Linked DNA regions of Homo sapiens: region 2 is linked to region 1. Evidence: promoter capture Hi-C in 16 types of primary human blood cells and fetal thymus (Javierre and others, 2016). All regions are on one chromosome and are shown on one strand. Each heading gives the region's core, a stretch centred on a gene start or on the middle of the fragment in contact. The rest is flanking DNA. Distances are from core to core; before and after follow the strand shown.

What was found. The method cuts DNA at HindIII sites, captures the fragments that hold promoters and counts their contacts. A CHiCAGO score of 5 or more calls a contact.
Region 2: a fragment that was not itself captured here is called in contact with the fragment with the promoter of SLC7A8 in region 1 in 1 of 17 cell types (M2 macrophages); the score reaches 6.6 in M2 macrophages.

The regions. Positions count from the first base shown.
Region 1 is chr14:23,182,388-23,185,087 of GRCh38, forward strand. SLC7A8 (solute carrier family 7 member 8) reads right to left here and starts at 1,273. Exons shown (of 11, transcript NM_012244.4): 1 at 377-1,273. The coding sequence starts at 527. The HindIII fragment of the contact is 7,114 bases long and covers 1-2,700 here.
Region 2 is chr14:24,278,610-24,281,309 of GRCh38, forward strand. It overlaps a transcript of NOP9 not described here. Among named protein-coding and RNA genes, the nearest start is that of RABGGTA, 8.4 kb to the left of the region's middle. RefSeq lists a silencer at 48-278 and enhancers at 836-985, 1,326-1,405. The HindIII fragment of the contact is 3,842 bases long and covers 1-2,700 here.

The sequences.
Region 1 (2,700 bases), core at 23-2,522:
TAATAGCTGCATACAAACTTGTTCAGGTCCCTCAGTCCCTCCTTAAACCTATTGAACTAGAACCTCCAAGTGTCGAGACCAGGACCTGTATTTTTAAGGAGTTCCCAGGCAATGCTAATCATCAGCCGGGTTTCTGACCACGATTTGCTCCATTCTATGAACACTGGGCAGAATCTTTGCCTGGTTTGGAGGAAGAGATGTATGATGTATTTCCTATGCCTCTCAAACTTGACCAGTGGAGGTGAGTTACAGCTCAGGTGACTGACAATCCTTTTCTAAGGAATAGGAAGAACAATAATGCTTTCGAAGGGTTAAGATCTCACAGGAGGACCACCAGAGGGGAGAGGAGGGGTCCGCGGGAAGGAATGGAACTCACCTACGATGATACCACAGGCACTGACCAATCCGATCTCTTTCTTCAGGGCTACTCCGCCCCCTCCGGAACCAGCCTCGGGGCTGGCGTCCGACTCGCCCCCACCTGGGTGTTTCTTTTCGGTGTTGTTTCGGTGCCTGGCTCCTTCTTCCATCCTTCTCAGTAGGATTGCAACCTCAAAAGCTGCCTCCCTTTCTAAATGCGTATTCGTGTAAATATATTGGGAGAGAGCTTTGAATTAGAACGTCCTTTTCCGAAATAGGAACCACTGCTACTCTCTAAAAAAGGCAAGCAGATAAAAGAGAACACGAAAAATATTCCTACTCCGCATTCACACTTTCTGGTCACTCGCGTTTACAAACAAGAAAAGTGTTGCTAAAAAAAAAAAAAAAAAAAAAGGCCAGGGGAGACATACATTTAAATATAAAAATAGAACTGTGCCAGCGACTCCGGCTGGAATTCTGCTGAAAGGGATGTGTCTTCAGAAACCAGGATGGTTCTGCTCTGTGCACCAGGCAGTGGCTTATTCAGAAAGTGAGCCTGGATTTCCCTTCACCTCTCCCCCTAATAAAACAGGAGACTGCCTTTACCTCCCCTTAGTTTTTTCTTTTATGATGAAGACAAAAGTAGTTTTCATTAACGGTAGGAAAAAAGAGCAATCCTCAGGTACTTTCTTCTCTTCTAGAAAAACAAACTGTGAACCTGACGGTGTTGCTCTAGATCTGGTTTCCACCTGCTTTGGGTTTCTTTTCCCTTCCCCGTCTTCTGCTTCCGCCTTTCCCAGGTGTCCTCTTCTTTCTCGCTGGTCTTCGTGCCCTTGTTTTCCTCTTTTCGATCCCCGTTCTACTGCACAGCCGGCCCCATCCCTCTGGTTTCGGGAGAGTGGCTTCTCCACACACTAACGTGCTTCTCTTTAGCGAGGGGTTTTATTCGCCCGCCGAGGCTCCGCCCCTGCCTCCTCTGCTCCCCTCCATCCTCAGTCCCGTCTCCTCCCTCCTCTGCAATTTAAGTATTAGCACAAAGCCCCCAAACAGCACTGAGAAAATGGACTAAGTTATTTCTTTTTGCAATCGTCTCTCGCTTTCTCCATCTTTCTCCTTGCAACCAAGTGGAAGTAAACTCCTTCCACGTCAACTGTTCCGGGAGAGCTCATTAGCTAGTATAATGTTACAGGTCATACAGCATCTGTGAGCTTTATAAATCAGGGAACAGTTGTGCCGATACTTTTAATGCCATCAGAAATAAACTAGCCAATGTATTAAAAAATATTTAGGACTGGATCCTGTATTTGAGAATACAGGAGAGAACGTTGAAAGGACATCATCTTCGAGTTTCCTAAAAATAGGGGGAATCGACGGGTGGGGGAGGGAAATGGAAGGAATTAACAATGGGAAAAAGGTTCTTTTAGCGTAATTGTGAGCTACGAAGAGTACAGAGGAAACAAAATCGCCAGGCGCGGTGGCTCACGCCTGTAATCCCAGCGCTTTGGGAGGCTGACAGGGGAGGATCACGTGAGCCCAGGAGTCTGAGACCAGCCTGTGCAACAGAGCGAGACCCCGTCTACTAAAAATTTTAAAATTAGCCGGGTGCAGTGGTGCAGGCCTGTAGTCTTAGCTACTCAGGAGGCTGAGGCTGGAGGATTGCTTGAGCTCAGGAGGTCAAGGCTGCAGTGAGCTATGATGACGCCACTGCACTCCAGCCTGGGAGGTAGAGCAAGACCCTGTCTCAAAAACAAAACAAAACAAAAAGCCAGAAAAACCACATGCACATACAAAAAGATAAAAAACAAAATCACCAGGTAGCCTTGTTGTTCACAGCTCTTATTTAGGACTGGCTGAAACATGAAAAAAAATGACTCAAACCCTGATCCTGCAACTTCTAATATTTTTGCATTTATAAACTATTTGAAAAGCACACATGGGGAATTATCAGTATATCGCTGATCATGAAACATACTTGTTGATGTTAGAATAACTAGCTTATTACCATATCGAAATGATGCCTCCACTTTCTTGAAGAATTTCACTCAGAAACTGCTGCCTTAAGGTGAGAGCAACAATGTCTATTTATAATTGTAAATTATTTCGAAAAAACAGCATGAAGCAATATAGTGGACAACACTATAAGTCTAAAATAAAGTTATTTTTAGCCTTATTAAATATATTATGCAAAATTATTTAATTTTAAAGTGGGCCTAAAAAATTAAGTTCCCCCAAACTGACCCCTAACTACAAAAATTTGGCCTCACTTTCTGGAAAATGTTCCAAAAGATTTTGGGTTTTAAGGAAAATAAATACTTAATTCCTTAAAATGAGGTTTGTTGAGCT
Region 2 (2,700 bases), core at 69-2,568, 1.1 Mb after region 1:
CACAAGAGTGAGATACGTGAGGGGTGGAATAACGATAGTGTATGAAGACAGGAGGACTCTGGCTGATAAGAGATTGGAAAGAATTGACTGTGATCTGCTTGCCAAAAGCACTAACATGACTTTGGGATGCACTAAGAGAGCTTTAGTACCCAGAACAATGGGGCTCATAGGCCCCAGACTCTGTGAGAGTCAAACCCTGTGAGGAGTGTGTGGCCCATTTTGAGAGGGACAGAGACAAACTGTAGAGTCCAGAGGTAGAAATCAGGATGGTGAGAAGAGCCCATGACCACAGGGAAGACATGAAGATACTGAACTGGGAGAGAAGATTCAAGGGGCAGATGATAATGGTCTTTCAACTCCTGGAATAGAAACCGAATTGATTCTGCATATCTTGAGAGCAAAGACCAAAGACCAGAGAGTGGATGTAGATCCTTTATGAGGAAGGACTTTCTAATAATTAAAGCTAATTATTCTACCAAAGGTAGAATGGGCCTCAATGAGAGGTGGGAGGCATTCAAGCATATGTTGGTCAACCACTTTGTGAGAACGTAGTAGTGGACATTCAGAGACCAGAGTCTCTCCACTCTGAAGTTCTGAAAGATGCTGATCCCTGGGATGGAGCAGGGGACTAGAGTAACTCAGAGCCCAAGAAGATCCTCTCCACTGCCCATTCCCCACAACTGACCATTCCTTGGACACTTGGTTTGAATGCTTGCATTCTTTCTCTTCTCCCTGCTCCCCAGTTCCTTCTGAGTCAGGCTGGGGAAATTGCTTGATGGCCCATGGGGGTTGCCACGTGCCTGTAGCACACTTCCTGGCTGGGGAAGAAGACGAAACAGGTTAGCCAGTGAGAAGGGAGGGCAGGTCCCCAAGGTTGCCCTAAAAGACAGAAGGGCCCCAGAGGGAAAGTCCCCACAAGAGCATTCTAACTCTCCCAGGGTGTGGTGGGTACTGACTCAGGTTGGCGTCTCTTGGGGAAGAGTTGAGGGAAAAGCAACCAAGAAATGGTGTTGAAAAGCTGGAAAAACTTCTTGAGCCAGCCAGAACTGAAGCCTCTGTGACAGGAGCCAGGCACTGCATGGTGACTGGTGATGATAATGACATGTTGGCTAAAAATTGCCCAGAGCACTGGTGGAGGTGGGAATGTAGCCAAGAAGCTCACTGCCTGGCAAGGCTGCTGCCCAGCTGCAGGGGGCACCATCACATTCGGTTTTGGGCATATATGATGTGAGTGGTACCAGGAGGCAGAAGCCCTGACGTTCTATGTCAAGTGAGAAGCAGAAGCTGTGGAACAAAGTGAGACTGTGGGTCCTGGGGAAGGATGGGATGCTGTCGCTGGTAGATGAACACAGGGGGCTAAGGACATACTCCTCTAGGGGAGGAAAGAGGAACCGCTCCTTTTGGGGGAGCACTCAGGCCTCGCCCTTTCCCTGTCCCATTCATCCATCCAACAAATACTGACTGAGGGCCCTCTGTGCCTGATCCACGCTAGGGTGGGGGCTGCGACAGTGAGCAGAGCACAGACAAAGTCCCTGCCTCACTGAGCATACAGGCTAGCCCTGGGCTGTTTAATCGAACTTTCTGGATGATGGAAATAATCACATAAGCAAATGTAGAAGGACAACTCTGTCAACTGCTCTGCCTTTATGGAGAGGCATATGGTGCTGGGTGAGCACCTGATGGGGAGCTGCCCTGTCTGAGAATGGGGGTGGGCTTCCTAAAGGAAGTGAGTGGGAGCTGGGGCTGTAGGTGAGCAGAAGCCCTGGCTTGGGGCTCGGTCAAGTGCCTCTTCTGTTCCTCTCAGCACCAGGTCCTGTGGTGCCTGCATTATAGCTCATCCTGTGGGTGCAGCGCCCCACTTCTGCTCCTGCTGTGAACTACCTACCCAAGGGGACTCATTTGACTGCATTTCCTCTCACCTAGCAAGGTGCCTGCACCATGGTGGTTGCTCAACTAACGTTAACATAATTTAGCCAGTCAATTATCAACCAACAATTATTGAGCGCCAGTACAGCTCAATATACAGTGGTGACCAAGACAGACAAGGTCCCTGCTGTCATAGGGCTTACATTATAGTTGGGGAGACAGTCCCTGTAGGAGCAAATACACACCTAAGACAATTTCAGGGAATCTAAGTGCCCCTGAGGGAAATGAAACAGGGTATTGAGACTAGTTGGGAAAGAATGAATGAATGAATAAATGGTGAGCCATGGAGGCACCCACCCACTGGGCTGGGGTGGGAGATGAGGAGGAGGAGTTGGGGATCTTAGAGCCCAGGGCAGGGAGCTTGGTCAGGGGTGGCTGCACTCCAGGCTGTAGGGCCAGGCCTCGCAGCACCGGGAGGGAGTGGACAGGGAGTGGTTCCGAAGCTCAGAATTCAGTGTAAAGGAGAATGCCTGGAACTGCTGACAGGAGCAATGCTGTGTTCCTGAGTCCCCTGTGGGCCCAATCATGACTCAGGCTTGAGCTCTGTGCCTGGCAAAGAACACTGAGGGGAAGAGGGGCAGGGAGGACCTGGAGTAGCCCTACAGAGGCATCCAAGGCTCCCACTGCTGGCAGCCCTGTTGGGAAATTCTCTCTTAGGCCCCTGAGCGGGGGTTTTGAGGCTGAGGTGTGGTGTGTGGGGCCGAGGCCAAGGACCGATGGATAGCAGGGATCAATGAGTCCTTAGAGGGTCAGTCCTGGGATACAGACACTGCC